4 separate regions of the Homo sapiens genome follow, and all the other regions are linked to region 1. The links are contacts of gene promoters, found by promoter capture Hi-C in human tissues and cell types (Jung and others, 2019). All regions are on one chromosome and are shown on one strand. Each heading gives the region's core, a stretch centred on a gene start or on the middle of the fragment in contact. The rest is flanking DNA. Distances are from core to core; before and after follow the strand shown. Region 1 holds the start of KLF15 (KLF transcription factor 15). Region 2 overlaps ALDH1L1-AS2 (ALDH1L1 antisense RNA 2). Region 3 overlaps LOC124909426 (a long non-coding RNA gene). Region 4 holds the start of ALDH1L1 (aldehyde dehydrogenase 1 family member L1).

What was found. Contacts are between HindIII fragments. The study calls those that stand out against the background at their distance.
Region 2: a fragment that was not itself captured here is called in contact with the fragment with the promoter of KLF15 in region 1 in 1 of the 25 tissues and cell types used here (aorta).
Region 3: a fragment that was not itself captured here is called in contact with the fragment with the promoter of KLF15 in region 1 in 1 of the 25 tissues and cell types used here (IMR-90 fibroblasts).
Region 4: a fragment that was not itself captured here is called in contact with the fragment with the promoter of KLF15 in region 1 in 1 of the 25 tissues and cell types used here (H1 embryonic stem cells).

What each region holds. Positions count from the first base shown.
Region 1 is chr3:126,354,961-126,361,230 of GRCh38, reverse strand. It overlaps KLF15 (KLF transcription factor 15), which reads left to right and starts at 3,823. Exons shown (of 3, transcript NM_014079.4): 1 at 3,823-3,994. RefSeq lists a silencer at 3,644-3,863 and enhancers at 3,762-4,521, 4,522-5,281. The HindIII fragment of the contact is 9,710 bases long and covers 1-6,270 here.
Region 2 is chr3:126,201,867-126,207,969 of GRCh38, reverse strand. All of the region lies in intron 1 of ALDH1L1-AS2 (ALDH1L1 antisense RNA 2), which reads right to left. Among named protein-coding and RNA genes, the nearest start is that of ALDH1L1, 24 kb to the right of the region's middle. The HindIII fragment of the contact is 3,422 bases long and covers 2,016-5,437 here.
Region 3 is chr3:126,224,651-126,230,139 of GRCh38, reverse strand. The region is part of intron 1 of LOC124909426 (a long non-coding RNA gene); the gene reads right to left. Among named protein-coding and RNA genes, the nearest start is that of ALDH1L1, 47 kb to the right of the region's middle. The HindIII fragment of the contact is 6,398 bases long and covers 935-5,489 here.
Region 4 is chr3:126,179,239-126,184,970 of GRCh38, reverse strand. ALDH1L1 (aldehyde dehydrogenase 1 family member L1) reads left to right here and starts at 4,385. Exons shown (of 23, transcript NM_012190.4): 1 at 4,385-4,495. It overlaps ALDH1L1-AS2 (ALDH1L1 antisense RNA 2), which reads right to left and starts at 4,906. Exons shown (of 2, transcript NR_046383.1): 1 at 4,427-4,906. RefSeq lists enhancers at 71-365, 3,216-3,969, 3,970-4,725. The HindIII fragment of the contact is 3,712 bases long and covers 2,353-5,732 here.

The DNA of each region.
Region 1 (6,270 bases), core at 2,574-5,073:
ATGAATCTCTGTACTTTCCAATGCCTTTTCCCATCTCTTACTTTGGTTATCTTCAAACAACCTTTTGAGGTAAGTAGGATAGGGGTCTGAGCACCCATTTTATAGATGAGGAAACTGAGGCTCTGAGAGACAAACTGATTTGCCCAAGGCCACTCAGCAGTGAGGGACTGTGTGAAAGAACCAGAGTCCAGGCTGCCACGCATGTACAGCCCCACTAGGCTGGGGTTCAGGCTGCCTGCCTGCCTGGAAATCTGTCAGGTGTCAGAGAGACCACAACTCATGGCAGAGACGGGGATGAGGGGAAGCTGAGGAGCCCTCTGACCCCAGCACCACACTGATGTGTCCATGGACCAGGGGAAGCTGGAGCTCTCATCCCACCTCAGCCCCTGCTGCTTCTGGATCCTCCGGGCAGGGGTATACCTGGGGCTTTGCCAATGCTCAGAGCCAGGGGCAGAGGCTCTCAGGGCAGAGGCTCTCAGGACTCAGCCCTTCTCTGTGTCTTCTTGGACCACCAGGTCCCCAGGTCCCTGGGCTGATGTTCCTCAAAGCTAGGTGTGCTCAGGGCTGGGGGGCTGGGGGTGGGGACAACACTGGTCATGAGAGAGGAGTGGGCCCTCATCTGAGTCGCCTGGTGTCAGAACAGACCTGACCTCTTGTCTACACAGCACCAGGGGTCTGCTTGGTGGGGAAACGGTCCAGCCCAGCCTGAGGAACCTCCTGCAGCATGTTTTTCCTGGCCCCTGGGCACCAGCAGCCCTTCTGCCTGCCTATTCCCTAGCCTCCAGCTCAAAACCACTTCCTGAGCCCAGAATGGGTAGGATCTCTTCAGCACCCCAGCCCTTAGAGGAAGAGGTGGTGAGAAGGTAAGGGACTCTGGCCAGAGACCCTTGAAGCATGGCTGGGGACAGGGGAGCTGAGAGTAGGGGGAATTGTTGCTTCCCACCTGGGAAGGGTGAGGAGAAGTCAGTCACTGTGGGAGGTCACAGGGCTTGATGGCCACAGTGGGCCCTTTGTGCACAGACCATTGAGCCACTGAATGGGGCCCTCAAAATGCTTCCTGGAAGAGGGCAGGCTGGGCTCAGACCCCCGGGCAGGCATGAGCTAGTGGGGAGGCTGGAAGTCTCAGGTATGTGTGTGGAACAGGGGATGAGGACAAGATTGGTGGCTACAGTACTGTGGAAGAGAGCACCAGACCTTGAAGAGCTTCTCCAAAGATCCCATATCCATTGGCAGCTTTACTGGGGCAAGAAGAAAATCTCATTTCCTCAACATGTTTCAGAAGTGTTCTAGGTTCTGGGGATACAGCAGTGAATAAAAAAATACAAGTCCATGCTCTTAAGGAGCTTGTCTCCTGATAGGAGAGACAGGCAAGAAACAAATCAATAAATAATATAAAGATCAGGATCATGAAGCAAAATAAACAGAGGCCAGGAAACTGAGGGCAGCAGATGTGCTGTTTTAGACGGGATGGGTGAGGAAGGTGTCTGGGATAAGGTGGCATCTGAGCAGAGACCTGAGTATGCGATGGAGCAATCCATGCAGCTGTTTAGGGGGAAACAAGAGACAATAGAAGAACGTTTCCCTGAACGAAGAAAGACTTGAGTTTCCAGATTAAAAGGATACACCAAGCATAGAGTAGTAACAATGAAAACAGAAGGAGGCTAGAGTCAGACATATCCTGGTAAAATGTGTGAAATTCAAGCATGGAGAAAGATCACTCCAAAAAGGCACCAGGCCCAAATGGTTTTATAGGCAAGGTCATACAATATTTAACCAATATAATTTATATCCTTCCAAGGCCCTTTTCTATACTTGATTATGTAGAAGTAGGGAAGGAATTGCTTTGGAAGAAAAGAAACTTAGAGATTTTCACTGCTATGAAGATAAATCTTTACTGTTTTTGGTCATCTGTTTTGAAGAGCACCACCTGACTTTGTTCTCTCCTTTCTGCCAAGGAATCTCAATGATAGATTCTCCCCACTATATTGAGGGAGCTTTTCTCCTTAGATATGGTTTGGGGTAAATGCTGTACCTAGCTGTAGGGCATTAAAGATTGTGGTGAAAACTTGGGCTTTACTTACTCTGAGTGAGTTGGGAGCTGCTGGAAGCTTCTGAACCCAGAAGGGACCTGATCTGACTCAGGTTTTAACAGGACCATCTTGGCTGTTCTCCAGTTTCTAGCCAGTGGGGCCTCCTCCCTGTGTGCTGAAGGTGCTAACGATGTGTCTTTGCTTCCAAGCTTTTTCTGACCTTTTGCTGCAGCTTTCACCAAGGAGATGGGAGGCACTAGACTGAGAGTATGTGAGGAGTGAAGACCGAGGGCGGGCAGGGCAGATGGAGAAGTGCTGTGGCTATGCCCAATCCAGACCTGCACTGAGACAAAATGAGGAATACAGGCCTCTATCTCTTCTCTTATGAAAATGGACAAATTCCACTGTTCTGCCCAGGCTAGCCAGGGCTGCTGTAATGCCAGAGTGGTCATTCCAACTTCTGTGAACTAGAAAGCCTCTCACCATCCTCAACACAAATGTCCTTAAAGCCCTCTGGCAACGCATTGGTTTGGCTCCTAGTGGCAGCAGCAGCTGAATCCCTGGCACTGACCTGGTGCACAGTGTCCCCAGATCCCTGGTCAAGCAAGCCTAGACCTATAGCATTCCAGAGAGCCTGGAAAGGGTATGGTTAAAAATTCCTGTTCTAGCAATGTCTTCAAGAAGAAGCAGGAGAAAATGCTCCCCACCTCCCAGTGCCAGGAGGGGAGAGGAAGGAAGCTCAGTAGGACAGCTCTGCACAGGTGGCCTGGGGGTGTCTGCAAGATGACCTGGCTCTACCTCTCTACCTGCTCCTTCCCAGCTGTGGGGCTGGGGAGGGCTGGTGCCCTCTCTGAGTCGGTTTCTTCATCTGTAAAGTGCTTGGCTGAGGATCCAGCTGGAGTGTGGATTAAAGGGCACAGCAGGGTGCCTAGCACCGTCAGCCCACGTGTTTTTCTTGGGCAAGCCACTCTGAGCCTTACTCTTCCTGTCTCTAAGCGGGAACCCAAATGCGAGCCAGGATTGCTGCGGACTAAAGCAGTCTACGAACGCTTTTGTAGACTGCGAAGCATTGTTTGGTCTTCAGAAAGGTGCCCCAGAGACAAGGTGTCATTGGTTTCAGGTGGGGGGGGGGGGGGCCGGTCAGCAAACCTCCTTAGTCCTGGAGGGCAGGGTGGCAGCGCAGAGCGCGCGCAATTTCCGGAGGGTAACTGATTGTCCTGCTGAAAGCCCAATACCGTATTTATCCAAAAATACGTCCTTCTAGGCAAGTGATTTATCTGACACTCAGCGGGGGACAGAGCTGCTTGTACCGCGCTGGGGATGAAGGTGGGGACGTGGGCCAGACCGGGCCAGACAGGCTCCCCAGCGCTTCCCGCTCAATCACGCAGACTGCACTTTGGGGCGATCTCAGAGCTTTTCTTAAGTCTTCAGGCCAGTCTCACGTTCTCACCTTGGGAACCGAGCTTTAGAAGCCGGCCCTCGTGGACGCCGCGAGACAGCGGCGAGAGGTGGGAAGCAAGGAGGTGGCTGCGGGCCAGGGACCAGGCAGCGTGTTGGGGGGCGTGCGCGTCTGGCAGCTCCGGGATCCCCGAGCATCCGCCGCTCAAGTCCGGGAGCCGCGCGGGCGGGCCGGGGCGGGGCCAGGGCGGGGCCAGGGCGGGGCGGGACGTGTGACGCGCAGCGCGGGCCAATGGGGCGCGCGCCCGGGGCCGAGCCTCCTGCGAGCCTTCGCGGCGCCCGCTGCGTCACGTGAGCGGCGGGGAGTGAGTGCCCAGCGAGCTGCGGGCGGGCTAGTGCTCCGCCGCAGCGACCCGCGGGCCGGCGGGCGATCGAGCCAGCGCAGGACCCGCGGCTCGGCCCCCGGCCGCCGCCGGACCGAGAGTCTAGCCGCCGCCCCCAGCCCAGCCCGCCCGGCCGCAGGACCGCCGGGGCCTGGCCGCCGGTCCGGCGTGCGCCAAGTTCAGGTGGGAGAGGCGCGGCGGGGCCGGCCGGCCGCGTGGACGCGGCCCCGGGTGATCAGAGGGCTGGCCGGCCTCGGGGCGCGTGGCCGTGCTCCCGCGCAGCTCTCGGAGGCACCGCGCGAGTGCTGGAGGAATGTCGGAGGAGCGGGATGGGCCCCCGCGGAGGTGGGCAGGGGTCGGACTGGCCCGGGGGAGGTGACCCCCCCCGCCCCGGTCGCCCACCAGCACTTTGCTGAGGCCCGCGCCGCCGCCTCGGTGCCTGGCCGGGCGATTCCGTGGCGCGCCTTGCGGGCCGGCCCTCCCATATGGTGGGCACCGGCGCGGCCTGGTGAGAGGAGGGGGAGAGCGGACGCGCTGGCCAGCCCGGGGTTGGGGGGCGGAGGGGCTGGAGACGGAGGGGTTACTGTCGGTCACCGCAGCAGTGTCGGGGGCAAGGGGGGGGCGTGGGACGAGGGCATGGTGCCCAGCGGGCAGCGGTCCAGGACTCTAGAAGGGGTCTGAGCCGGCTCTCTTCATTTCCCACGCACGTTTCCCCTCACCCGCCGGCACCCACGGCGGCTCCACGCGCGAGTCCTTCGCGGACAGCCTCCCGCACAGCCACAGCGGCTGCCGCGCACCACGCCCCGCACACGCAGTCACACGACAGGAACTCACACCCCTTCACGCACACCCGCACCGTTCACGCGTCTCACTCCACGCTGAGTCCCCGTCCGCTCAGACCGAACATTACCAAAGCCATGGCCTGACCGAGGGATGGCGGCGGCGGGGCAGAGAGGCCGTCCCCATCCCATATGGTGGTCCGGTTCACTCTTCCCTCCCCGCCTTGGTGTTACTCATGGAACCCCCCTCTCACGGAGGGCACAGAGGGGCTGTTTTCTCCCACGGCCCTCGGAGGTGACAAAATCAACAATTGTTTGAGAGCCTCAAATCTCCTTCCCCCTGTCCCCCCGGACCAGGTGGCCCCTGGGGAGACCCTGCCGCCCTACAGGTGTGAGGACGCCCGGACTCTGCGACTTTGGGGCCTGCGGGCGGCTCAGGGACCGGAGACTCTTATTTTGAAGGACAGCCCCCGCCGCCACCCCCGTGATTTGCACGCTGACCCAATGGCAAGCCCTTGGCCGGCGCTGGGCTTGTTATCAATTACATGTTGTTCCTGCAGCCGCTGTGTCCCCGGGAGGATAAACAGCAGGCCTGGCCGGGCCAGGGGAGGGGGCGGAGTCCGGCGGCCAGCCGGGGACTGTGCCCGGAACAGCGTGTCCCCTCCCCCTGCACGCAGCCTGCGCCTCTGGCCGCCCCACGTGCTGCTGTGTTTCAGGGGCCGAGCCAGCTCCAGCCCTAGAGTGTCCTCTCTTTAATGCCGGTGCCCTGGGACATCCCAGAGCCCTTTCTGGGTTGTCAGTGCCTGGGTGCTTCCCCCTTGGGACGTTCAGCCCAGCATTAAGACCCTGTTGGCTGACCTGGGCCACCCATTCCTACTCTCCGACCTCCCCCGCTCTCCCCCGCACCTTCCATTCACTCATTCAGCAAATTTTGCCCGGTCCTGTTTTAGACTCTGGGATATGGCCTTGGAGTGAACAGTCAGGACAGCTGATATTCTGATGGGAAGGTAGACAGGGAGGAAAGTTCACAAACACATCACCAAGATAGTTTCCCACAGTAGAAACTGCAGGGAAGAGTATAATATAGGATGATGTAACAGAGTGGGCCTGGAGGCCCCCACAGGGGTGACTTCTGAGCCGAGATCTAACTAAGCAGCTCCCACCTGCAGTGCTGGGGGAAGAGCCAGGGCAGTGGCCCCGGGCTGAGGCTGAAGTGAAGTGAGCACACCTGGACTAGAAGAGAGGCAGTTGGTGGTGAGGTCTGCAGAGAGTCCCAAGGGCCCAGGTGCTGGGCTGCTGCGAGGAGATAGGGCCACCTGTCCTTGGGAAGCCATTGGAGGGTGTTTCCTTCCAGCCCCCCTACTGTACTTTTTAGATCACTTTATCTGTCAATATCTGTTTATATGTTTAAAAGGTAAGGCCTCCTTTAACCACAATATGATCATCACAATTAAAAATATTAACAGTAATTACTTAATATCATGGGATGGCCAGTTAGTGATCACGTTTCAGGGGAGGGCTCTAAGGCCTGCTCTGGGTCCCAGGAGGGCTGGAGGCCCCTGATTCCTTAACATCACAGTAGAGGGGCAGAGGCCGAACGTTTGCCGTGCCTGCAGGCTGACACCAATGGCTGGCACTGGCTGAGTGCTGCCGGTGTGCCAGATCCTGAGGGGGGTGCTT
Region 2 (6,103 bases), core at 2,477-4,976, 150 kb after region 1:
AAGTGCTACATAGGTGTTAATATTTGCATCACTCTGTAGTTCTGAACTCATCTGCCTAACAAGCACAGCCTGCCCCCACTATCCCTCCTGTGCCCCAGACATGGGTATAGCTGAAGAGGGCCTTGGTTTGGTTTGATTCCATCATGTATGCACTCAGTGGAGACTCAGTAAGTGTTTATTAACTTAAAATGCATGCCCGAATGAACGAATCAGTCCATTGAGTTCTAGCGGCCCTTACCTGGGACACGCTGGCCTCATGGCCAAGGAAAAGAGCTTGCGGAACCAGGTGATGATTTTTAAAGCTTGGTATGGATAGTCTCCAAAGACAGTCACCATCAATTTCTTTCCTCCCTGTATGTGCTGGATGATTCTTACACCAAGTACTGGAATCTTGCCTTTGTCTTACTAACAAAGTCTGGACTAACCTTAGTGACTTGCTTAACCAATGGATTGTGATGGAAGTAACATTCTAGGACTTCTGAGGCTGGGCTTGTAAGATGCCTGGATCTCTTGATAATGTTCCCTCCTGGAATTTAGCTGTCAGGCTGTGAGAATCCCAAGCCATGTGGAGATGCCATATGTGAGTGCTCCAGTGAAGAGCCCCCACTGAGGCTCCAGGTGACAGTCAGAATCCACTGCTCACTGTGCGACTCGGCCATTTTGGACATCCGGCCCAGCTGAGCCTTCAGGTGGTGTGCAGCCGCAGCCAGAAACTGACTACCACACATAAGAAACCTAAGAAAGAACTACCGCACCCAGTCCACAGGGCCATTACATCATAATGAACCATTATTTTAAGCCACTCTGTGTTGGGATGGTGTTTTTGTTTTGTTTTGTTTTTTTGTTTTATTTTGTTTTTTGTGAGACAGAGTCTTGCTTACAGGCTGGAGTGCAGTGGCGCGATCTTGGCTCACTGCAAGCTCCACTTCCTGGGTTCACGCCTTCTCCTGCCTCAGCCTCCCGAGTAGCTGGGACTACAGGCGCCTGCCACCATGCCTGGCTAATTTTTTTTTGCATTTTTAGTAGAGACGGGGTTTCACCGTGTTAGCCAGGATGGTCTCGATCTACTGACCTCGTGATCTGCCCACCTCGGCCTCCCAAAGTGCTGGGATTACAGTGGGATGGTTTTAAAAGCAGTAACAGATACCCAGAGAGCTTCTGCTTAGAAGGCACACATCACTTCCCTGCTCAGAATCCAGCACTGAACTCCCAATTTATTGGTCAAGAAGTGATGTCCACAGGGCAGAAAAATATGGGCATTCCTCAAAGACGTAGCAAGTATTTAGGGATAATAGTAAGAGAATAAAGTGGCTGGATATAAAATAAACACAGTGATAAGTTGCATTTATATATACTTGCAACAACCCTTTACAAAATAAAGTGAACAAAGATCTCTTTTACAATCACAATAAAAATAAAATATCTAGAAACAACATTAGTGCCTTGGATACATCTAGTTCCTAGTACAATCCCCCAGGGAGGCTGTGAGAAGTTTTGTAATGAGCTTGTTAACAGAGATTGTATATTGGGAAATTTCCAGCAAATTTGCAAATTGGCATACTACTTCTGCCAAATGACTAAAAATGTTCTGTTGAACTGCTAAAACTTTCCTGTGTATGTGCTGAGGTTGTGATAAAATGGCAAAGTAGGATGGCTGGTCTGATTGGACTCCAATTGAAACATTCTCTCAAGTATGTGCTAAAGCAAAAAGCATGAAGTCAGCTGCAAGTGAACAAGTTGTCAGGCTTGTGCCTCAGCTTCCATGAAAGGAGCTGGCAGAGGCAGCCCTGCTGACCTCTGAGCTTTGCACGACCTGGGTGTCCAGCATAGATCTGGGTATGACCTCCAGGAGGAGGCAGGCAGCCTTCAGGGCTGCAAGCTTCTGTTAGAAGCTTAGCAAGCGTCTCTGACCATCACTTCCTCTGGAAATGTATTCTTTAATAAACCATTGCATTCATGAGTGAAATTGAATAAACATCCCAGGATTCTCAATCTTTGGGAAAAAGCTCATTCTAAAGTCACAAATTGTCTCACTAGAGAAAAATGCCACTGTATGCAGTACACACAAATGATTACATACTGCTTCTAATGGTTACTGACTCTGTGACCCTTGTCCCCAAGCCCCAAGTTGAGAAAAGCTTGTATTTTAGAGGTTTGAATGACAAGGGGAGGGAAAGGATAGGGAGATGAGACAATCCCTCCCCAAGATGAACCCTTCCCGCAGGTGTGTCCATCTCCTAGGTGCAGCCACCTCCCAGGTGTACCTTTCTCCCAGGTATACCCTTTCCCCAGGTATACCCACTCCCCAGGTGTACCTTTCCCCTAGGTACACCCTTTCCCTAGGTGTACCTTTTCTAGGTGCACCTTTTCCACAGGTACTCCCTTCCCCCAGGTGCACCCACATCCCAGGAACACCCTTTCTCCAAGTGTACCCACTCCCTAGGTACACCCTCTCCCCAGGTGCACCCACTCCTCAGGTATACCCTTCCACCAGGTGCACCCTCTCCCCAGGTGTACCCTTCCCCCAAGTGCACCATTTCCCCAAGTATACCCACTCCTTAGGTGCACCCTTCCCCCAGGTGCACCCTCTTCCTAGAGGCACCCACTCCCCAGGTGCACCCCCTCCCCAGGTGTACTCTTCCCCCAGCTGTGCCCTCTCCACAGATGTACCGTCTCCCCAAGTGCACCTACTCCCCAGGTGAACCTTCTCCCAGGTGTACCAACTTGCCATGTGTACCCTTCCCCCAGGTGCTCCCTCTCCCCAGTTGCACCCTTTCCTGAGGTACACTCACTCCCCAGGTACACCATTCCCCCAGTTGTACTTTTCATCCAGGTGTGCCCTTCCCACCAGATGCTCCTCCCCCTGGTGTGCCCTTCCCCTGGGTGTACTTGACTCACTTTCCTTCAGTAGGTTTCCGCTCAGTTATCACTCTATCATGAAGCTTCCCTCACCACTCTGTTTAAAATGCAACCTCCCTCAACTCTCCCTCTCCTCTCCCCTACTTTATTTTTCTCCATTTCATATAGCTGATAATTCCCATCTTTATTATGCTTATTGTCTGTTCCCAGTCAGGTAAGTCCTATGTGGTGTTTTTTTGAAATTTTGTTCTTTGCTATATCTCAGTGTCTGGGACAGTGTCCAACATATCCTAGGTGCTCAGTACACATTTATCAAGAGAATGAATGGATTGGACACATCCATCTCCCTTCCCTGACTCTGAACTTCTGGAGCACAGGGACCCTGCCTTTTTCATCCAGGCCAATACATAGCAAGTGCTTGTTTAAATGTTGGTTGAACTCAGTGGCCCACCCATTACAACATAAAGACACCAATACTTTCAGGAAGCTTCAGCGAAAAACCCTTATAGAAAAAACTCTCCCAGGTGTATGCCCTCTGCACCAATTGCAAAGCTCTCGACCTCATTAAAAAGCATTTCATTAGAAGGTGACTGATATGGTTTGGATTTGTGTCCCCGCCCAAATCTCACCTCAAATTGTAATCCCCAATGTTGGAGGAAAGGCCTGGTGCGGGGTGATTGGATCGTGTGGCCAGATCCCCACTGTTGCTCTTGGTATAGTGAGTTCTCATATCTGGTTGTTTAAAAGTGTGTGTCACCTCCCGCCTCTCTCTCCTCTTCTTCCTTCTCTGGCCATGTAAGATGTGCCTGCTTTCCCTTTGCCTTCCACCATGATTGAAAGTTTCCTGAGGCCCTCCCAGCTATGCTTCCTGTGGAACCATGAGCCAATTAAAACTTCTTTTCTTATAAGTTACCCAGTCTCAGGTAGTTCTTTATACAATGCGAGAACAGACTAATACAGTGACCTCATTGGGATTTATGCAATCTTATCAGAAATGAAATTTCACAAGTCCACAGTATCAGTGCCATGGGGAACCTAAGAATCCCGGAAGTCAAGGGCAGCTCTTTGCCTGTCCTGAGCCCTCAGCACAGGGAATCAGTGCTGTAATTGAACTCACTGGAGTAACCCTATAAATGGAGAGATGGCCGCGTGTGAGTCTAAGCAGAACTGGACTTGGCAGGGAGGACCCAGGCAGCCCAGGGACACGGTGCCCATGTTCCCGTTTCCTGTAGAACTTTGCAAGCATGATACCCATCTCTAGCATGAGCCATCAGGGCCCCAGCATGGACCTGAAATCAGAGCCTGCAACCCCCGTGTCTCCCTCCTTCTCTTTCTCAGCCTACATCCCTGCTTCCTTAGCCATCAGGCCCTGCTAGGGAGGCTGTCCCAGCCCTACCTGGCCTGACCTTTGGGGCCTGAGAGGGTAAGTCCAGCCTAGGTGTGTGTGTGGGGGGGTGGGGTAGACAACAGCCAACTGCCTTAGGAGCAGGTTCCCTACACACAGACCCCTGCTCCCTGAATGTGGCAGAGGGATATCCAAGGACGTGTATGTGTTTGCCTGTTCATTAGCTCACTAAGCCCTGCCTTCTGCAGACACCCTGGTGGTGCTAGGTGTACAAGGATGAGACAATGGACCTCCCCTTCTGCACCTGAAGTGGGCCTGCTGCACACATCCAACAAGAGTGGAAATACCAAACACATTAATAAGTGCTTCCAAATAATACGCTTGCACAGCTATTGCCCAATGAGTAATTTCTGATATGCTCTGCGGAGTGTTTGTCAGGACAGATGAAGATTTATTCCTTGTGCCAGCCCCCTTCTCTGCATTTTCCCTTTCTCCCCAACCCTCCAATCTCCCAGTACGGATGTAGTAAAATATTGATAAATTTTACAATCTATTATACATTAGTAGTCTATTAAGACTATGTACCACACTGCAAACGCAATAGTAGTATATGGTGGGGTTTTTTCCTAGTCCAACTTTTTGTTTCGCTTAGAGTTAGTGATGACCTCATTTTAAAATTTGCTTCATTTTGGTGCACTGATCTTTATTTATTTTTTCAAAATGCTGCATTAGACCTGTCAAGTACATGGCCATATCCTTTATAAGGTGCCTCATCTTGCAGACTCTGTCAACCCCACTGTGCCCCAGCACCTCTGCCTTGCTGCACAGGACCTCTGGCTGCCCAGCCTGCAGGCATCCTGAGACTGACTGTAGCCCGTGTCCTGTACCAGTACCCGCCCCCACGGCTCCTGCATCCAGATCTTGCTGTTCCTTTGTTTGTTCTGTTTTTTTTTTCTTTTTTTTTTTTTTCTGGATTGCGTGCTCCAGTGGCTTCTAAAAAAGAGTTTTGAGGAAGGGGGCATATTTTCAGTCCTTCTTTGAGTTAACAAGTGCTCCTGTTTCATTGTCTCATGTTTCATTGGGAATAAAATATTTAAAAGTGGGTTCCTGTCTTCCTTTCAAGTGCAGCACCACCTTTTTCCAAGATGCTGTTGTTATTTGCATCCTAGTTTCCTTGTCCAAGAGCTGTGTGGATGTGGTTGTCAGCATCTCTCCTTTCCCTTTCTCATGAATGTCTGCTTCGCAACTCATCCTTAGTGGGCATGAGGCCAGTCTTTGCCATCTGGGTGTCCTGGCCCTTCAAGTCTGAAATGGAACTGGCTGAACTTCCCACCTGCTGTGGTGGAGTCTGGGGCCGTAGCTAAGAAGGCACAACACTGTGATTGTCTGAGAATGTCTGCAATTGTCTGTGATTGAACGCTGTGATTGTCTGAGAGTGTCTCAGTTCAGTGGTCAGTCTATTCCCTACATGTCTAATAAATGAAAAAAGTTTCATACAGTAACTGGAAGTCAACTAGAATATATGCGACTTCACTTATTGTTCAATGTTGGGTTGATTCATGGGTGGATTTTCTAAACCTTTCATCTTTTATGGGTTGATTTTCTAAACCTTTTATCTTTTATGTTATTTTCCATTTATTCATCATTTTAATCTAATTTTTGGAAGGTGTTTCTAACTTTATATTTCAAACCTATTGAATGTCATTATTTCACTTATCTAATTATCTTCTTAGAATCTTTCTTGTTTTCAAATTATTTTTTTATTGAGACCAAAGAAGCTACATAAAATGTTACAAGCCTAAATTTGAACTGAAAGTTTCAATATCAATTTCATTTTGTTTTTGTTTTTAGAGACAGAATCTCACTCTGTCACCCAGGTTCAAACTCCTGGGCTCAAGC
Region 3 (5,489 bases), core at 2,884-5,383, 130 kb after region 1:
AAACATGGAATCAACCCAAATGCCTATCAATGGTAGACTGCATAAAGAAAATGTGGTACACATACACCATGAAATATTATGCAGCCATACAAAAGAAGAATGAGATCATGTCTTTGCAGGAACATGGATGGAGCTGGAGGCCATTATTGTTAGCAAACTAATGCAGGAATAGAAAACCAAATACCACACATTCTCATAAGCAGGAGCTAAACAACTAGAACACGTGTATATTGGGAGGGGAACAACATACACTGGGGCCTACTTGAAGGTGGAGGGTGGGAGGAGGGAAAGGATCAGAAAAACTGTCTATCAGGTACCACGCTTATTACCTGGGTAATGAAAGTATCCGCACATCAAACACCTGTGGCACACAATTTGCCTATATAATAAACCTGCATATTTACACTTGAACCTAAAATAAAATTTTTAAAAAATCAAAGATATAAATAAGTTGAAAGATATCTCATGTTCACGGATAGATAAGAAGATTTAATATTGTTTAAGATGTCAGTCTTTCCCAACTTAATTTTATTCAGTGCAGCACAATCAAAATCCCAGCTACCTATTTAGTGGATATCAAAGACTAATTCTAAAGTTTATACAGAAAGGCAAAAGACCTGGAATAGCCAACACAATACTGAAGAAGAATGAAGTTGGAGGACTGGCCAGGCTCACACCTGTAATCCCAGCACTTTGGGAGGCTGAGGTGGGTGGATCATCTGAGCTCAGGAATTCGAGACAAGCCTGGCTAACATGGTAAAACCCTGTTTCTACTAAAAATACAAAAAAATTAGCCAGGCATGGTGGTGCACACCTGCAATCCCAGCTACTGGAAAGGCTGAGGCAGGAGACTCACTTGAACCTGGGAGGCAGAGGTTGCAGTGAGCCGAGATTGCACCATTGCACTCCAGCTTGGGCAACAAGAGTGAAACTCCATCTCCAAAAAAAAAAAGAAGATGGAAGACTGACACAATCCAACTTCAAGGCTTACTACTATAAAGCTACAGTAATCAAGACAGTGTGATACTGGGAAAAGAAGAGACAAAGAGATCAATGGAACAGAGTAGAGAGCCCAGAAATAGATTCACAGAAATATAGTCAACTGATCTTTGACAAAAGTCAATATCAACAGTGACAAATCATGTTGATAGCATGTAATATTATTATAACGTGATGAACATTGCTTCTCTACCTGTGTGGTCTACATATAACCTACATCTAATCATGACAAAAATATCAGATATACATCACATAAGTTTCAAAAAAGGGGCATCTTATAAAATTCTTAATCCTCAACACTGTTGAAATCTTCAAAAACAAGGAAGGTCTGAGAAGCTGCCACACCAAGAAGAGCCTAAGGAGACATGACGAGTAAATGTAATGTATCCTGGATGGAATCCTGGGACAGAAAAACATGTTAGGTAAAACTAAGAAAATCAGAATAAGCTCTAGATATTAGTCTCAGTATTGATTCATTAATTGTAACAAATATACTATACTAATGAAAGATACTAATTTTAGGGAGAAATGGATGAAGGAGTATTTGGGAACTCTCTATACAATCTTTTAAATCTTTTTGACAATTTAAACTGTTCTAAAAGGTAAAGTTAATTTTTTAAAAAAACCAGTAACTGCAGCAAGGGTTTACATCTTAGATGAAAAGAAGACTTTTTTGAGGACTATTGTATCACTGATGTTGTTGAGTATTGCCAGTCCATTGTGATCATAGAAAACCAACTGTCTTTTAGTTGGTTTTCTAAATTATCTCCTGACAAGGCACACACTATTGTCTGAGCTGAGGGTGGACACTCCCACTGTCTCATCCTTGGTATGCACTGCTCCAAACCTTTATATATTTGTTTATGATGATTTCTGTCTTATTTGATATATTTGCTATCTTATTTAATATATTTCTGTCTTATTTGATATATTTTTGGAAATATTTGATATATTTTTGAGATATTTGATATATTTGCTATCTTTTGAGATATTACTGCAATAAGCAGTAAATATTCAGAATGCTAACTCTAATTCAGGTTTCAACAGTGTCTCTTTTCTCTTGTAACTCATCCACTGAATTTTTGGAGCAGAAAATTATGTTTATTTTTAGCTCCAGAAACTCTTTTGTACTGCTCTTGAATCCATGTAAATGTCCTTTCCCTCTTCACCTCCTCCAATTTTCTTCCAGCTGCACCCTTGTCCTCTAGCAGCTCTCTTTCTCCAGGTGTGAGTTATATTTGTTGTGGGATAATCTTACCCTCTGGCTGGCATGATCCTGTGGGCTAGGTGTTGGCTCATCAGGGCTCAAGTCTAGCTGTTGGTGTTCCCTGCATGGCAGCAGCTCTACAGGTTGTAGAAGGTGCAGAGATTTCTGCCTCCATGTGCTGGTGACACTGCAGCAGGCTGACTGCAGGTCATGTGCTGAAACCCTTGTTCCTCCATCCTGTTTGCGTTTCCCTAGCTGCAGGGTCAGGAGGACTCAGCCCACATTTAGTATCTTCTTGACCAGGGAAACCAGGCAGGCTCATGGGGCTGATGGGAACTTCCCCCAAGGCTTCCCAGGATTTTCCTAGCAGCTCCCCAGTGTTGACTTCCAGGCACCTGCCACTGAGCTACTGGGGAGAAGGCACCACAGAGGTCTTCTTTTTGAGATGCTCATAGAAGCCCAGGCTGCATGAGCACCCAGATAGATGCTCAGAGTCTCAGCAGCTGATTGGTGCAGAAAAGGTACATGTGGGAATGAAGGAAATGGATCTGGGCTCAGGTTACCATATTCCCAGAATTCTCCCTAAAAGATGGTGTTTGCTGTGCATTGTAAATTTATTATTTCTTCCTGGCCTCCCATCTCTGGCATCAAGTATTCTCCCACTTCAAATACTCAAATACACCAGTCATATTGCATCAGGGCCCACCCTAATGCCTCATATGAGGCACTTACTTTTGAAAAGATCCCATTTCCAAATAAGGTCACATTCTGAGGTACTGGGGTTAGGAGTGCAACAGATATTTTTTGAGGAGCACAATTCAACGATTACACCCTCTGTGATCATTTTAGTTGTGAATACTTTTACCAGTGACTTCCTCTTTTAAGATTTTTGGTGTTTTTTTTTACCATAAAAATTATATATTTTTACATGGTTAAATGAGTCAAATTGTTTCTTTTGGACGTCTGAGAATGAAAACACTTTCGATTCCAAGGTTTTAGGATTACTATTCTATATCTTATTGAAATAATTTTATTGATGTTTCATGTTTAAATGTTTAGTCCATTTGGAAATTAATCTATGTATGGTACAGAGTGTCTGTTGACTTAAGCACAAACATGTCTTTCTTAAGGACAAACATTAGTTCTTGCCACAGCAAGGAAGAAAATGTCTCCTAACTGACTCTTAATTAGGAAGAACACACTTCCTCCCATGGAATCAGTAAATCACACTATTATCCAAAGTGGTATTTAGTTCTTTGTTCTTTTTCTGCTTCCCTTTCAGGCTTAGCAGGGTAAGAAAGCAGCCACAAACCTGCTATAAACACCTCTCCCTTAGCAACACAATTAGAGCCTTAGAAATGCACAGTCTAGAAAAGACTGGATTAAATTATTTGCCAAGAACAGTTACTCTCTCTCCTCAATCTCCATCTGGGTGAAAAGAAGGGTGTTACCCATTCTTACATACATGCACATACACACATGTCACACACGTATGTTATATGTATGTATATAGAAAATATTGAATTAAAAAACACTCTAAAACCTAGTTTTCTGTACTTTCTTATTTTCTAGAAATGGACAATTAATATAATGACAATTTTGTCTCTTTTCTTTCCAATGTTTTTAAGCTTTTTTTTTTGTCCTATTGCATTGTCTAGAAGTTTATGAACAACTTTGATTGATAGTTATAGGTTTACAGCACTTCACCTGCAATTCCTAAATGCCAAAAAACTCTGAAATCTAAGGTCTGTGGCAAACTCTTTGGGTAATAAAATCTGGCCTGAACCAATGAGGACTATTTATACTCTTCAAGTATACAACTTGGGGCAAGAGCATTTGGTGACCTAGGCAGTAATGTGCTCGATTATGGACTGTCCTCCCGGTCCTCATTGGGGTTGTTTTCCAAGGTATAATATATGTATGACATTATCTTTGAGAAATCTGAAAAAAAAAACCTGATTGTGAGATTTAATTGATCCCAAGGATTTTAAAGGGTTTCTGGGATCTTAGATCATGAATAATGCATATGTTTGTCTCTAGTGTTTAATCATTCAACTTGTCGTAAGTTGTTGGCTTGTGACAGATACTTTTTAAATTAAAGGGGTTTTCCATGCCATGAATATTTATTGATTTATTTACTTTTTCTACTACTTCTTGGTCATTTATATTTTCTATGAAAAGTATCAACTGTATTTAGACTTTGAAATGTTTTGGGACTTCTGGTTTTTGGTGTGAAATATAAGGAGATTGGTCTTCACTCCCATCCTTGTAATAAGAAGAAAGCAAAACCAAACTGAAAATTAACAACTCTTCTTAGATCCATAAAGAACTGAGACCACAGGGCAAACAACGGCCTCCACAACCCCCATTCTGGTTCCAGAGTCACCAAACTCTTTTCCTTTGTGCATTTGAGAATGTGATAAGAATCCATCTTGGAGAGTCTTGGAGAAACCTGCTGTTCTTAACATAAGTTAACCCCAATCTAGCTAAATTCTGTTTTCCCTAATGTACTTTGAAAAGTTTGATTAGGTCCATAGAGAGTTTTTCTTTTTCAAAACATGATAGATAAATACTGATATACAATATAATACCACTTAAATACTTTCCACATATGTATAAGGCTTATCTGTGCATTTAAAACAAAGTTGTGGGATATTTTGTGGACCAAACTTGAAATGCTGGCTACGGTGGAACTGGAGATGGGGATGGGAAGGAAGCCTGGGGGACTGTGTGTGATGATGGGGCCCTCCCCTTTATAGAGATACATGTCATACACACACACACACACACACACACACACACACACACATAATTGTAGTAAAAAATACATAGCACAAAATGTACCATTTTAACCATTTTTAAGTGTATAGTGCTGAGGTGTCACATCTATTCACATTATTGTGAAACAAATCTCTCTGGAGCTTTTTCAAGTTGCAAGTCTATGCCCATTAAACAGCAGCTCCCCTTCTCTCCTTCCCTTCTTCCCTTGGTCACCACCGTTCTACTTTCTGTTGCTATGAATCCAGCTACTTTAGATAGCTCTTACAGCAGGATCATACAGTACAAATACTCCTCGACTTACAATGGAATTATGTTGATAAACCTGTGGTTAGTCAAAAATACATTTAATACACCTAACCTATTGAACATCATAGCTTGGACTAGCCTATCTTAAACGTGCTCAGAACACTTACATTAGCCCACAGTTGGGCAAAATTGACTGGCAAACAAGTGTGGAAGCTGTGACTCGTAGCTACTGCCCAGCGTTGAAAGAGACCATGGT
Region 4 (5,732 bases), core at 2,959-5,458, 180 kb after region 1:
AGTAACTCACGAGGCAGGGTAGAAGCATCTGAACGAGGCATCCTAGGAGATAAAGAGAAACACTGGCTCCAAAATTAAAACAAAACAAAACAAAACAAAAACAAGCCCAGGTCACTTGGCCTCCCCGCTTTGATTTCCCACAGGCTATGACCTTCAAGTTAATGTTTCCTTTGCAGCGTACACACAGTCCCAGTTACTGATTCCCCAAAAACAAGCTGAATCATCATTATACAACAGAAAGAGAACCCATGTCTATCCCATCCCCCATTCACAGAGCCCTGAGCCAGGCTTGTCTCCTAATCTGCCTCTGGATTGGAGCAGTAGCCCCCATTGTTCTACCCAGACTTGGGCTGTGTAAGTGCACACTGCTTTCCCTGGGAGGACTTAGCCACCAGGGCCCTGCGGAAAGCCCGGGCAGAGGCTCTCTCTGCAGGGCTTATCCAGCCACTGTCACTGCAGGTGCCTCTCCTGGATCAGGGCCTGTGCAGGGCTGTGGGATACACAGATGAAACAGGCCCTGTCCCTGCCCTCAGAGGTGTTGCAGTTGATAAAGAGACAGACACACATATAAATAGTTGCATTAGAGTGTGGTCTGTGCTGTGAGTGAGGGAATTCCCAAGGAGAAGGTTGGGGTCAGGCTTCCCAAAGGAGATGATGCACAAGCCCATCCCTGGGGCACAGGCAGGGCTCAGCTGGTGGCTTCAAGAAGCAGGGCATTCCCGGCACAGTGAACTGAACTGGCAAAAGAGGGTTTCAGTGGGACTCGTTCAGAGAGTATCATATAGTCCTGGGACAGGGACAAGCTGGCTTCTGCCACTGTCTGACCTCAAGCCTCAGCTTCTCTCTCTGGTCTATGAAAGGATGGATTCGGAAATCACACAGTTACTTCCACCATCTTTCATGTGTTAAAAGGAAGTCACTACGTTCAGCCTACATTCAAAGGCAGGGGAATTAAGTGCCACTCCTTGAATGGAAGAGCATCAGAGAGTTTTAAAATGACCACAGTCCACCTACTGGCCACAAACTACTTACATCCTTCCACATGCAAAATACATTCGCCCTCCAAACATCCCCTCAAAGCCTCATCCCACTGTAGAATCAGCTCAATATCCAGAATCTCTGCATCTAAATCAGGCTTTGATGTGGGTGAAGCACCTGGGGTATTATTCCCTCAAGTGTAGCTCCTTGAGTAGAGTTGCTCTCAATCTACAGACTTAGGAATTCCAGAGACAAATTAACTGCGCCTCCCCCCTGCACCCACCTGACATAAACTGGTGGGATAGGCATTGGATAACCACTGTAGACGTGCCTGCTCCAAAGGGAACAAGGACAGGAGGCATGCAGGAGTAACTAGTGTACGGCAATTCTAAAATCTTCCTGGGCGGGTCCTGAAAGTCTCTTGAATAGGACTCAGTCTGACTCTGGCCCCAGAGTGATTCTCCACGCTCTTGGCTCCACCCTTTGGGTTCTTTGTTCTATTCCCCAAGTCATCCCTTCTTTTCCATGAAATGCAGCCCAGGTTCATATCCGTATAGTTTCTCAGCTTGCTTCCTCCCAGAATTTGGGGGAGTCTAGAGGTCTCTTTTCATTTTATATTGTCTCTGACCCTTTCAGTCCAAGTCTACACTGTTTTGCTCATATAATTCTTTTAAAAATGTTGCATGTCTCCTGTAGATCTCACTGAGGTTCATGCCTTTAGACAACTGTCAAACCCACACATCTCTTTGAGAAAAGCCCTTCTCTCTCTTGGGCTTCTGCTGAGACTGCTGTCAAGGACAACTGTAAGCTTCTTAGAAATCCTACTATTTAACAAAATATTCTGAGGTGTCCCTTTGTTCTCTTTGAAGATTTTACAAAAGATCTCATGACCACACTCTTGGCTTCATCTTTAGGCCATCTTCCTTGCACTGGCCTGCATTTGCTCTTTGCCTGGAAGCCATTTGTTAGTTTTAGCATCATATGACATCTGGAGAAGCTGGACATTTTCACAGCCCAAGTTATGGTTCCTTTTTATTTAACAATCCTTCCTTTGGCTTATGTCCCTTCTCTCACATTTTAGTATAAGCAGCAAGAAGAAGCCAGGAGGAGGCACCTTCAACAATCTCCTTAATGAGATCCCCCAGTTCATCTGGTACATTTTCTACTTTCCACATGATTTCGGAACACTTTCTGCTTAAAATTCCCTCCTCTCCTGCTCCATACCTCTAAGAGTATGGATTCCTCTCTGATTTCCTAATACATCTTTTTGGGGTGTCTAACCTCCAAGCCATTGTTCAGTGGTTCCTGTCGCCCATCTGCCTTCTCAATTTTAACTCCCAAGTTCAGAACACACCACTTTCCCATTGCAGGCCCCTAACACTCAGCCAGTTTTCCTACAGATTATATGGCACACCTTCCACACACAGGGCATGCATTCAGCCCTGGGGACTTCCCAGGAGAATAAGCTAGTCTTCGCCATCATTGTCCAGAGACATGTTAATCAAGCAATCCCAGAAGCAGTGATAAAATTGCAGTTGAAGGCAGGGTGCAGTGGCTCATGCCTGTAATCTCAGCACTTTGGGAGGCTGAGGTAGGTGGATCATCTGACGTCAGGAGTTTGAGACCAGCCTGGCCAACATGGTGAAACCCCGGTGAAACGTCTACTAAAAATACAAAAATTAGCTGGGTGTGGTGGCGCATGCCTGTAATCCCAGCTACTCAGGAGGCTAAGGCAGGAGAATCGCTTGAACCTAGGAGGTGGAGGGTCCATTGAGCTGAGATTGCACCATTGGACTCTAGCCTGGGTGACAGAGTGAGACTCTACCTCAAAAAAAAATAAATAAATAAAGTTGAGAGAGGTTCATGAAGAAAAATTACAGGCCTCTCTGTGATCACATAATGGAGGAATCTGTCCTAGTAAGGCTGAGGCTAGGGAAAGCTTCCCTGAAGTCATGGCATTTTAGTAGGAACTTCCTGAAGAATGATGGGGGTTCTCTGGACAAAGATGAACGGCACATGGAAACTTTATGAGTCGAGAAGTTCCACAGATATGAGGGACAGCAGGGAGACCTGCAGGCTGGAGCCTAAAGAACAAGGGGACAGTGCCTGAAAGTAGGCTAAGTGGATCAGCAGGCACAGGCCACCTCAATCCTGGGTGCCCATACTGGCTTATGTGAGCAAAATACATGCATTAAGCCATTCAACAAACATTTATTTAGCAACTGCTACAAGCCATCACTGTGTATTGGGGATACAACAGTGAATACATCTCACAAATTTCCTGTCCTCAAAGAGCTTACAGTCTAGTGGGAGAGACAGACAATGAACAAACAAAGAAACAAGGAAATATCAGATATACAGTTAAGTGCTGTGAAGGAAATAGAACAGGGTGATGTGGCAGGGAGTGGCTGAGGGACTTCCTTAGTTTGTGTGACCTGGAACAGCCTCTCTAAGGCTCTGCATCAGATATCTGATATGTGATACCATATGGGAGCAGGCTCTGAAAGAACACTACAAGTAGAGAGGTAAAGGCAGGGGCTGCAGCAAGCCTGATGTGTTCAGGCACTGAGCAGAGAGAGGGCCAGGTGGTCGGGACTTAGCGAGAGGGTCGCCTCAAAAGAAGTGAGGCTTAGCAGGGCACGGAGCAGTGCGGCCGCAGGTGTGGTGGGAAGGGTGTTCCAGGAGAAGGAGCCACCTGGACACAGGCTTGCAGTCATGAAACAATACGCAATTATCACTCCCGGCATTCTACATGGCCTTGCCTGAGACCGGGCTGGCCAGGATCTCTGGGAACCAGGAGGAGGGGTCTGCGGCACCAGGACTGAGTAGAAGGGAGAGAGTGGAGAAGGGGAATTGCAGAGAGAAAACCAGGGGCTGTTTTTCTCTCGGAGAGGCGGGTAGGCACTGGGCGGGCAGAAGCGCCGCTATCCACCCGGATGCGCAGCTGCTAAGGGGCCGCCTCTGCAAGCGGCTGCAAATTCCCGGAGGGCAGCGTCTCCTTTCGCTCTGCTGTGTCCGTAGCACATGGCAGGTACTTGGCCCATCAAGAGTGAGAGAGGGTGAGCGAGTGAGTGAGTCACCGGCTTGGCGAGGGTCTCCTCTGACCCACTTAGCCTTGCCAGCGCTCAGAACTGCCAGCCCTGCTGGGTGCTTGGGACTTTTCAAAGCCCTGGGAATTCTCCAAGGGTCCACAGTAAGTCTTCTTGACCTAAGCGGGAAAGAGCGCAGGCCCCTGCGGGGTTGGCTTTTACATGGCATTTATAGACCCGCCCGGAGAGGGTGCGCTGCGCTCCCGCCATAGTCCCACCACCGGTGAGCGCCGCCCCCACTCGGCTGACTCTCCGCCCGCCCCGCGCCCCTCCCCTCACGGGCTCTGGCCTTAACCAGAGCTCGCGGACTGGCGGGGACAGGTCCCACCTCCTGGCTCCCAGGACGGGTCTGCACCAACCTCAGTTTCGGGGCTGCGGCTCACAGAAGTCTAACCTGCCCGGGACGCCCGCACCAACTCCTGCGCGCGGTGAGTTTCTGGGCTCTCGAGAGCGCTGGACTCCCGGCGGAAAGGAGGCTGCCCCGGCTGCAGCTCCGGGGGCTCCGGGGGCTCCAGGGGCTCCAGGACTCGGTTCTCACCGCAAGGGCTCCTGCGGGGCCCATCAACTTCGCCGCTGGGACGCCGGGCTCGGGGTACGGGTCCGGAGTTCTTTGGAGCAATTGAGGCTGAACCTGGCCAGGGGTCATCAGGCTAAATGACCGCAGCGCCAGGACTGGCCCGCCGAGGATCTGGCCGGCCGCGGTGGTAGGGCCCTTACGGAGCTGGCGCCAACCTGTGGGGTGGGCACTGCTGGCCCGGCTTATGGAAGAGAAAACTGAGGCTCGATAAGAGAAAGGGACCAGCGAAGGCGACGCGATGATTTGTGACTGGGGACTACCTGTTTCCTGGGCCCCTCGACCCCATTCTGTGACAGGGAAAGGTCTTCCCTGATTGGCCAAATCTGGGGGCCTGGCACGAGGGCCTCTTGTGATTGGAGGGGTCGACGTGAGCGCTCAGGGGCTGCGCTGGAGTCCCAGCTCCAGCCACTGCGCTCAAGTGGACGGTCGCGCGTGCAGAGGGAGGCCGGATAGCAGACCCCACAACGTGGCTCCTGGGGCCCCGCTATCGAGAGCTCAGGCCCCGCGGGCACTTGCCTAGGAGAGGAAAGAATCTTCCCAAAGTGCAGACAGAGACGGAATTTAATCAGGAGTCCCAGACTTGGAGTTTGGAGGCATGGGCTCTGGTGTCAGGTGACTTTGTTTCCTCCCCACGCCTCCACTTCTCCTTGACCTTGGGCAAGTTTCTTGTGTTCTGAATCTTAGTTTCTTGTCTCTAAAATCGGGAGGGGCAATGAACAGTAGTGCCTGCCTCCCAAGATTGCTTGAGAATTACATGAGACTGCCCCGCGCCTGGCCCTAGGAAACCCTCGGAGAATGTTGGCTGCTGTTTGTTTGTTTGTTTGTTTGAGACAGAGTCTCGCTCTGTCGCCCAGGCTGGAGTGCAGTGGCACGATCTCGGCTCACTGCAACCTCCGCCTCCCGGGTTCAAGTGATTCTCCCGCCTCAGCCTCCCGAGTGCTAGAACTGCATTCATGGGCCCCAGGGCCCTAGCACCAGAACAGAGGGCCCAGAGCTGCAGTCCTGCAGGGTGGCCCAGCCTCACAGGGACTAGAAGCTGGGTCCTGGAGAGCCAAGCCTGGGCTGGGAATTGGGTAGGAGGGTTGGGA